Linked DNA regions of Homo sapiens: region 2 is linked to region 1. The links are contacts of gene promoters, found by promoter capture Hi-C in human tissues and cell types (Jung and others, 2019). All regions are on one chromosome and are shown on one strand. The core of a region is centred on a gene start or on the middle of the fragment in contact, and the rest is flanking DNA. Distances in the headings are between cores, read along the strand shown.

Evidence for each region. Contacts are between HindIII fragments. The study calls those that stand out against the background at their distance.
Region 2: a fragment that was not itself captured here is called in contact with the fragment with the promoter of ZNF562 in region 1 in 2 of the 25 tissues and cell types used here (lymphoblastoid cells and pancreas).

What each region holds. Positions count from the first base shown.
Region 1 is chr19:9,673,054-9,678,140 of GRCh38, reverse strand. ZNF562 (zinc finger protein 562) reads left to right here and starts at 3,041. Exons shown (of 6, transcript NM_001130031.2): 1 at 3,041-3,126. RefSeq lists enhancers at 1,835-2,834, 3,097-3,156, 2,835-3,334, 2,873-4,072. The HindIII fragment of the contact is 2,519 bases long and covers 2,421-4,939 here.
Region 2 is chr19:9,277,730-9,283,267 of GRCh38, reverse strand. It overlaps the pseudogene OR7H1P. Among named protein-coding and RNA genes, the nearest start is that of ZNF699, 29 kb to the left of the region's middle. The HindIII fragment of the contact is 5,089 bases long and covers 1-4,813 here.

The sequences.
Region 1 (5,087 bases), core at 1,792-4,291:
GTCCCAGGTACTTGGGAGGCTGAGACAGAAGAATCGCTTGAACCAGGGAGCAGAGGTTGCAGTGAGCCAAGATTGTGCCAATGCACTCCAGCCTGGGCAACAGAGCGAGACTCCATCGCAAAAAATAAAAGAAAAAAGGAATTTTTTAAAAATTTTATTGTTTTTTAAGGAGACAGGGTCTTGCTGTGTTGCCCAGGCTTGTCTCCAACTCCTGGCCTCAAACGATCCTCCCATATTGGCCTCTCAAAGTGTGCTGAGATTACAGGCATGAGGCAACGTGCCCAGCCAGAAATACATACTTGGTGAAGAAAAAAAAAATCAAGATTTATAGAAAGTATTATTATATTGAAAATGTGGCTGTGCGTGGTTGCTCATGCCTATTGTAGGGAAAAGAAAGAGATCAGACTGTTACTTTGTCTATGTAGAAAAGGAAGACATAAGAAACTCCATTTTGATCTGTACCCTAAACAATTGTTTTGCCTTGAGACGCTGTTAATCTGTAACTTTAGCCCCAACCTTGTGCTCACAAAACGTGTTGTATGGAATCAAGGTTTAAGGGATCTAGGGCTGTGCAGGATGTGCCTTCTTAACAATATGTTTACAGGCAGTATGCTGGATGAAAGTCATCACCATTCTCCATTCTCAATTAACCAGGGGCACGATGCACTGCAGAAAGCAGCAGGGACCTCTGCCCAGGAAAGCTGGGTATTGTCCAAAGTTTCTCCCCACTGAGACAGCCTGAGATATGGCCTCATGGGATGGGAAAGACCTGACCGTCCCCCAGCCTGACACCCATGAAGGGTCTGTGCTGAGGAGCATTAGTAAAAGAGGAAGGCCTCTGTCTCCTGAATGCCCCTGGGAACGGAATGTCTTGGTATAAATCCCGAATGTACATTGTTCTCTTCTGAGACAGGAGAACACTGCCCTGTGGCTGGAGGTGAGACATGCTGGTGGCAATGCTGCTCTGCTATTCTTTACTACACTGAGATGTTTGGGTGGAGAGAAGCATAAATCTGGCCTACGTGCACATCCAGGCATAGTACCTTCCCTTGAACTTATCTGTGACACAGATTCTTTGCTCATATGTTTTCTTGCTGACCTTCTCCCCACTATCACCCTGTTCTCCTGCTGCATTCCCCTTGCTGAGATAGTGAAAATAGTAATCAATAAATACTGAAGGAACTCAGAGACTGGTGCCAGTGTGGGTCCTCTGGACGCTGAGCGCCGGTCCCCTGGGCCCACTGTTCTTTCTCTATACTTTGTCTCTGTGTCTTATTTCTTTTCTCAGTCTCTCATCCCACCTGATGAGAAATACCCACAGGTGTGGAGGGGCTGGCCCCCTTCACCTATAATCCCAGCATTCTGCAAGGCTGAGATGGGCAAATCACGAGGTCAGGAGTTTGAGACCAGCCTGGCCAACATGGTGAAATGCCCTCTGTACTGAAAATAGAAAAAATAGCTGGGCATAGTGGCAGCCACCTGTAATCCCAGCTACTCAGGAGGCTGAAGCAGGAGAATCACTTGCACCCAGGAGACGGAGGTTGCAGTGAGCTGAGATTGCACCACTGCACTCCAGCCCGGGCAACAGAGTGAGACTCCAGTCTCAAAAAAAAAAAAAAAAAAAAAAAAAAGTAAAAAGAAAACGCAATGGAAACAGCAGGTTCTATAAAATAAAGAATGAAAAAATAGGCTGGGCGCGGTGGCTCACGCCTGTAATCCCAGCACTTTGGGAGGCCGAGGCGGGTGGATCATGAGGTCAGGAGATGGGGATCATCTTGGCTAACACCGTGAAACCCCGTCTCTACTAAGAATACAAAAAAATTAGCTGGTTGTGGTCGCGGGCGCCTGTAGTCCCAGCTACTTAGGAGGCTAGGCAGGAGAATGGTGTGAACCCAGGAGGCGGAGCTTGCAGTGAGCCGAGATTGCACCACTGCACTCCAGCCTGGGGGACAGAGAGAGACTCCGTCTCAAAAAAAAAAAAAAAAGAAAAAGAAAAAGAAAAAATAAAGGCCTACAGAAAGAATGACTGAATGGAAGAGACAGACCATGCCATCTATCACTGGCAGGTTTAATATGGAAGAATCATGGAAAGGCTCCAGGAACATGAGGAGCGGCATACAAAAAAGCTTGACACACACACACACACACACACACACACACACACACACACATATATATATATTTTTTCTTTTTGAGATGAAGTCACGCTCTTGTCCCCCAGATTGGAGTGCAGTGGCGCAACCTCGGCTCACCGCAACCTCCGCCTCCCGGGTTCAAGCGATTCTCCTGCCTCAGCCTCCTGAGTAGCTGGGATTACAAGCGCCTGCCACCACACCCAGCTATTTTTTTGTATTTTTAGTAGAGACGGGGTTTCAGCATGTTGGCCAGGCTGGTGTCAAACTCCCGACCTCAGGTGATCCGCCCGCCTTGGCTTCCCAAAGTGCAGGGATTACAGGCGTGAACCACTGGCGCTTGGCCTTATATATATATTTTAATAGAGACAGGGTCGAGCCGGGCACAGGCCTGGGCAACAAGAGTGAAACTCTGTCTCAAAAAAAAAAAAAAAAAAAAAAAGAAAAGAAAAAAAAAGACACACGGTCTTGCTATTTCACTCAGGCTGGTCTGGAACTCTTGGACTCAAGCTATCCACCTGCCTTAGCCTCCCAAAGTGCTGGAATTACAGGCGTGAGCCACTGAGCCCGCCCAGGATAAGCTTTGGAGGAGCATCCTCTGGGGTGCGTCCCATCCCCCATCCCCGCCTTTCCAACCCGTCTGGGCACCTGAAACGCGGGCTAGGCCGGGTCCCACCTCTAAACCGCCCCCAAATATGGGCCCCACCCCTCGCCCACGGTTCCGTCCAGAGGTCCGGTTCTAAACTCATCTTTTTCTCTGAACCCGTTTCTGCATCCCGCTCCCTGAGCCAACCCCAGGCACTGTCCGGCACCCACCCAGGAGGAAACTAGAATTTCTTTGTCCTACGTGCCTGAAACTCAAGCCCTGGAGCCCCACCCGGCCGGAGGCTCGGAGCGGAAGTGACGTCAGTGTGCCACCGCCATCTTTACCGGCTGTGGCTCAGCATGGTCAGTGCCGTTTAACCTTTATTGTGGTGGAGTCCACCCCGCTGTGGTGAGTTCTACCTGCTTGGGGGTCCGGGACATACCAGCGGGGCGGCAAAGGAAGGATTGGGCGTGGTCGCCCAGGAGCCTCTCAGATCCGCCTAGTTTCACTCGCTTTTCTAGGGGCTGTCAGTCCTCCTGGTGCGGCCTCTGGCCAGTTCCGAGAGGCCGCACAGTCCGTCTGGCTGCGTCGGGAAGTGTGTTTGTTCCGCCTCCGCCGGGTGTTTTCTTGAGTACTTTCATCCGCTGTGCTCCTCTCTTGAAAAGCTTGGAAAGCAACCTTTGGGAGTTTTTTTCTTTCCGAAAGGAAAAGGATTTCTGCCCTTCTGGTGAGGTTGGCTCTGGCCCCGCATTCTCCCGCGTCTGGAACCTATCTCTTCCGGCATGTTCCTGGTGAGCAACGGCGGAAAAATGGTTTCAAGAGGGCTGTGACTTCCATTTATTTGCTAAAAAATGTCTCATCTGAGAATCTGGCGTTGTCTTGATGTCCTTTACTTTTTTTTTTTTTTTGATTTGGAGTCTTACTCTGTCGCCCACGCTGGAGTGCAGTGGCACGATGTTGGCTCACTGCAACTTTCACCTCCCGGGTTCAAGTGATTGTTAGATATGAGTTTTAAATTTCTTTTTAAAAAATCAATATGTCAGTATGTTTAATTCTTTGCCTTCTACTTTTAAACTTCTCCGTAAAGCAACCTTTTTCGATCACCTGCTCCACCCTGACTCATTCTGATTACCTGCTCCACCCAGACTTATTTCGATTACTTACTCCACCCTGACTCATTTTCCACCCTGACTCATTCCAATTTCCTGCTCTGTTATAACCATTTTCCCCAACAAACCACTCACCCTGTCACTCTCTTTAAATTAGCCAATTGGAATTAGTTTAGCCTGTGGGGTCTAACCCTAGCCATCGGGGAAGGACAAAGCGGCAGGGGCCACTTTCCTCAAGAATAAGAACCCCTTCCCCTCCCTTGTCCTGGTGTGTGCTCACCATTGCTCCATCTGTGAGGGCACACCCTTCTGTAGAAGTAAATTGCCTTGCTGAGAAAAGAAAATGTTATATTTGAGTGCTTTTTTTTTGTGGCATGAAAACTTTATAACATGATTCACCTGCCTCAGCCTCCCGAGTAGCTGGGATTCCAGGCGTGCACCACCACACCTGGCTAATTTTTTATATTTTTGGTAGAGATGGGGTTTCACCATGTTGGCCAGGCTGGTCTCGAACTCCTGACCTCAAGTGATCCACCCGCCACTTATTTTTGACACATTACATTCAGATGGAAAAAACATAGTTGTTTAGGGTGTGCCCGTTTTTGTATGTAAATATGAACGCGTGTAGACTAAGCCTTTAGTTTTTAATTTTTATTTTCTTGCAGGTTATTTTTTTTCTAATTGTTACCAGCTGCAAGCCTTTCTACTTAAAGCCAGGCCAGATGCACTGGCTCACACCTGTAATCACAGCACTTTGGGAGGCAGAGGCAGGCGGATCACCTGAGGTCAGGAGATCCAGACTAGCCTAGCCAACATGGTAAAACCCTGTCTCTACTAAAAATACAAAAATTAGCCGGGCTTGGTGGTGGGCCCCTGTAATCCCAGCTGTTGGAGATAAAAAAATAAAACGCTGGGTGCTGCAAAGTGAAACCAGCACTCAGGCAAAAGTTTTCTCAGCAACGCAATTTATTTCTATAGAAGGGTGAGTCTCGTGGATGGAGTGATGGCGAGAGTACACCAGATAAGGGAGGGGAAGGGGTTTTTATTTCTAACGCTGGGTCCCTACTTCTGTGTCTCTCCCCCGTGGGTTAGGGTCAGACCGCAGAATCTAAACTGACCCTATTGGCTATCTGTGAATATTTTCCCCAAATAAGGAAGGGTAGGGGGATGTGTGAGTCATGATGGTGGGATGTGCAGTTTCAAAGAGTGGAATAGCTGCAGAATGAGTAGCCAAGGGAACAGATGTGAGTTATTGATTAG
Region 2 (5,538 bases), core at 1,020-3,519, 390 kb after region 1:
ACACTCTGTATCTAGCTACTCTGGTGGGGCCTTGGAGAACCTTCATGTCTAGCTCAGGGATTGTAAATACACCAATCGGCACTCTGTATCTAGCTCAAGGTTTGTAAACACACCAATCAGCACCCTATGTCTAGCTCAGGGTTTGTGAATGCACCAATTGACACTCTGTATCTGGCTACTCTGGTGGGGCCTTGGAGAACCTTTGTGTGGACACTCTGTATCTAGTTAATTTAGTGGGGACGTGGACAACCTTTGTGTCTAGCTTAGGGGTTGTAAAGGCACCAATCAGCACCCTGTCAAAACAGACCACTGGCTCTACCAATCAGCAGGATGTGGGTGGGGCCAGATACCAGAATAAAAGCAGGTTGCCCCAGCCAGCAGTGGCACCTCGCTCGGATCCCCTTCCAAGCTATGGAAGCTTTGTTCTTTTGCTCTTTGCAATAAATCTTACTACTGCTTACTCTTTGGGTCCACGCTGCTTTTATGAGCTGTAACACTCACCGCGAAGGTCTGCAGCTTCACTCCTGAAGCCAGCGAGACCACGAGCCTACTGGGAGGAACGAACAACTCCAAACGCGCTGCTTTAAGAGCTGTAACACTCACAGTGAAGGTCTGCAGCTTCACTCCTGAGCCAGCGAGACCATGGACCCACCAGAAGGAAGAAACTCCGAACACATCCGAACATCAGAAGGAACAAACTCCAGACGCGCCACTTAAGAGCTGTAACACTCACCGCGAGGGTCTGCGGCTTCATTCTTGAAGTCAGTGAGACCAAGAACCCACCAATTCTGGACACAAGGTGGCTCCTGTGGTGGGTCCACATTGTCAAACCTTCATAGCTCAGTAAGTGTTGAGGGAAATAGGGAAAAGAGATGATTGAGGGGAAAGGCATTGACTTGTTAATCATAGGGCAGGAGAAACCCTGTGATGTCCACGGAGAAGGGGCTGTTGAGGCTGATTTCTTGGAAGGGAGAATGGCTAGACTACTTGCTTAAATAGCCATTGTATAGCGAGCTTTAACTTTGCCTGTATATTACTTGGGTAGATGACTGATGGAGGTTATAGGAAGGGCTACTCTTTGTTGGCCTGGGGCACTGTTTGATATCTTAGCGCTGCCCTGGATCACTCTGTGTGGTCTTGGAGTGACCAATCTGCATTGTACAAATGGATGCTCCAAGGTACATGATAGGAATTGCAATTCTCCCTGGGGCCTGGAGGGAAAGATGGATTTAGGGCAGGCAAAACTAAGGACAAGGAAACAGGGTTGGGGATTCCTCATATCATTGGAATTGAGGGGAACAACTCAGGAATATTTTTGCAGAAGAAAAACAAAGGCCAGGAGAGGTAAAGGAATGAGGTCAATGTCTTGCTAACAATCTCAGCTTAAGGACGAGACTTGACTTCAAGTGAAATGAAGGGAATTATGGAAAAGAATCCTGCAGGTTTCAGTAGGAGCTGTAGGTGCCTTGCAGTGAAGTCCTGGTCACTTCTAGTTCTTTTCACCTACTACCTGACCCAAGAACTTCAGAGGCCCTCAGCCTAGATCAAGCCTCTCTGAATTCTTCTCTGTGACCCTCACTTGCTTGGAAACATCTCCTGCCTCTCCAGAAAGACTTATCCTTCCCCATCCTTCTTTACCCTTATCCATGATTCTAAGTAGACACCTTCAAGAGACAAGCGTCTGTGTTCCCTGGAATGGAAGGCCATGGTGTATAACAACTAGGGTACGATGGGTGAGTGAGGGAAAGTGAAGGGCTCAGGCAAGCCCAACATCCAGTCTCCTCTTGACATCGTATCCTCTGGGGAACACGAGGGAAGCATTGAAACCTGCAGGATTCTTTTCCATAATTCCCTTCATTTCACTTGAAGGTCAAGTCTCATCCTTAAGCTGAGATTGTTAGCAAGACATTGACCTCATTCCTTTACCTCTCCTGGCCTTTGTATTTCTTCTGCAAAAATATTCCTGAGTTGTTCCCCTCAATTCCAATGATATGAAGAATCCCCAACCCTGTTCCCTTATCCTTAGTTTTGCCTGCCCTAAATCCATCTTTCCCTCCAGGCCCCAGGGAGAATTGCAATTCCTATCATGTTACTCCTTTGATTGCCGTTCCTTCACAGCCCCATCCTTTATGGATTATACTTTTCAAAGTTCTTAGACATGTCATCCCTGCCCACCTCTCCAACATCATCCTCATCGTTTCTATCTAACACTTTGTACTTAAGCAGCAGCAAAGGGCTAAGAGAACTCTGTCCCATGCTGCTTCTTGCTTCTAGGCTTATTCCCTTGCTTATATCTCTGCCAGAAATGCCCCTGTGCAACCATTCACCTGGGTAACTCCTTGCCCAGGTATTCCTTCCTCCAGGACTCCTTCCCTGAATGCATTACTCCAGGCTGGATTGAGGGTTCCTCTCTGTACTCCACTCTGTACATCGTTTTATTTTAGCACTTAATTCACTGTGTTACAATGATCTGTTTCTGAATCCATCTTCTGGAAGGTGGAACCATAAGAAAAAAAAGACCACATCATTAATCTTTGTATCCCCAACAGCTAACACTTAGCCTGGCCCAAAGAAGACCCTCTTGCAGAATGGCTGTTAGCACTTTTTCAGTGACTGACAACCTAGTTGTCAACCTAGTTCAATTCTTCTGTACTTCCCAGCACGGCTCAACAAAAATTATGCACCAGGCCACGTGCTGTGGCTCATGCCTGTAATCCCAGCACTTTGGGAGGCCGAGGTGGGCAGATCACCTGAGGTTGGGAGTTGAAGACCAGCCTGGCCAACATGGTAAAACTAACTAGTTTTTGTAAAAAACTAGCTAGTTAGTTTTGTATTTTTACAAAAACTAGCTGGGCATGGTGGTGCACACCTGTAATCCCAGCTACTCAGGAGGCTGAGGCAGGAGAATTGTTTGAACCCGGGAGGCAGAGGTTATAGTGAGCCGAGATTGCGCCACTGAACTCTCCAGCCTGGGTGACAGCTCAAGACTCTGTCTCAAAAGAAAAGAAAACAAACAAAAACCCAACAACAACAAAAAAAATTGTGCACCAACACTAGACACTAGAAACAGATTAGGACATATTTATTATGTGGATGGAAAAAGAGAATCATATAAGTGTCAAATGACTGTATCTTTCTGGTCTCTAATTTTGAAACCCTGGTTCTAAGGTAGAAAGTTTTTAATGTGCGGTCAGCTTCTTAAGATGAATGTTATTACTGGTAATGTCATGACCTATTTGAATCAGAATTTGGCTGCCACCATAATTCCAAGTGGGACTTAAGGCAACAAGTAACCCTTCCTTCCTTCCTTCCTTCCTTCCTTCCTTCCTTCCTTCCTTCCTTCCTTTCTTCCTTTCCTTCCTTCCTTCTTTCCTTCCTTCCCTTCCTTCCTCCTTCCCTCCCTCCCTTCCTCTTTCCTTCCTTGAAAACCTAAATCCACTCATCTTGCAATATTTTGTCTAGCTATTATCTCTGCTTTCATATTTTCTCACTGCTCAGACATAGTTGTCTGACCTTCTTCAGTCTCAGTTGTGTCTTAGACAAGGAAGATGACCCTGACCTTTTCTTAAGTTCACTGAACCTTATATGTGTTAGAGCAGGTGCAGACCATTTTATCTCTAAGGTCTAAAGTTGCTCTTGGTAGATTTGATGATTCTAAAGCAGAGAAAAAGGGAATGGGTAAGCCTCTGAGAGGCCAATGAACAGGGGTTAGTCAACGTTATGAAATGTTGCCTATAACAAATGACAGAATGTAGGATTCCTAAGTTTTGCTATTTTAAAGCTTTTGTATCCAATTATTCACCTCAAGAAATAAAAAAGCAGAGAGATTTTGGAGCCTGTTCAGCATCTATTTCATGTTTCTTCCCTTCCTTAACTGTCTAGCTGATGTGTCAGCAACATGGACTTGGGAAATCAAACAAGAGTTTCAGAATTTTTACTCCTGGGATTTTCCCAAGACCTAGAGGATCAACAGTTGCTCTTTGCACTGTTTCTGTCCATGTACCTGGTCACCGTTCTGGGGAACCTGCTCATCATCCTGGCCATCAGCTCTGACTCCCACCTCCACACCCCCAGGTACTTCTTCCTCTCCAATCTGTCCCTGGCTGACATCGGTTTCACCTCCACCGCAGTCCCCAAGATGCTGGTGAACATCCAGGTGCAGAGCAATGCCATCAGCTATGCAGACTGCATCGCCCAGATGTATGTTTTTCATGGTTTTTGGAGGCATGGACACATTTCTCCTCACCGTGATGGCCTATGACCGGTATGTGGCCATCTGTCACCCCCTGTACTACTGTGTCACCAGGAACCCCTGCCTCTGTGGCCTGCTGGTTCTTGTGTCCTGGTTCCTCAGCTTGTCATACTCCCTGATCCAGAGTCTGTTGGTGCTGCGGGTGTCCTTCTGCACCAGTTGAGTCATTCAGCACTTTTACTGTGAGCTTGCTCAGGTCCTCAGGCTTACCTGCTCAGACACACATGTCAATTACATCCTGCTCTACGTGGTGGCCGGCCTTCTGGACTTTGTGCCCTTCTCAGGGATCCTTTTCTCCTACACCCAAATTGTCTCCTACATCCTGAGAATCTCATCCACAGATGGGAAACACAAAGCCTTTTCTACCTGTGGATCTCATCTGTTTGTGGTTTCTTTATTCTATGGGACAGGCCTTGGTGTGTATCTTAGTTCCAATGCATCGTCCTCTTCCTGGTGGGGCATGGTGGCCTCGGTCATGTACACTGTGGTCACCCCCATGCTGAACCCCTTCATCTATTGCTTGCGGAACAGGGACATCAAGAGGACCCTAGAAACACTGCTTGGGAGAATGCTGTATGCTCAATGACGGGGACATTGGTCCTGGGCTTCTGAGTTGGCAGAGGTAGCAGCAGTGAGCTAAAGAAATTCTGGACCAGCCTGGGCAACATAGCAAGACCCTGTCTCTACAAAAAAAATATAAAATTTAGCCAGGCATGGTGGTGTACCTGTGGTCCCAGCTACTCAGGAGGCTGAGGTGGGAGGATCCCTTGAGTCCAGGAGGCTGAGGCTTCAGTGAGTCGAGATCATGCCACTGCACTCTAGCCTGGGCAATAGAGCCAGACCCTGTCTCAAAAACAACAGCAACTAAAGAAATTCTGCCTGTAGGCCAGGCGCAGTGGCTCACACCTGTAATCCCAGTGCTTTGGGAGGCTGAGACAGGAAGATCACTTGAGACCAGAAGTTCAAGACCAGTTTGGGCAACAAAGATAGTAAAATGTCTCAAAAAAAAAATTCTGCCTCTTAATCTCATGGAATTTGTTTCTCTGTTTCTCTGCCTTTGGTCAACATTACCTTGTGAGTACTGTGAGTACTTTGTATGAGTCTTATACAAAGAGACTTCTCTGTTATCCTTCAGTTCTACCCTTTCATCTCCTCTTACATTTTCCACGATTGCACCTCAGCTTGGTGTTTGTAGATTTGTTTGTGTTGATTCCTGAGGGTTAATACAACAAGTTTAAGTACTTAACTCAGACATTGTTGGATAAAAGTTATGAAATAGTTCATTT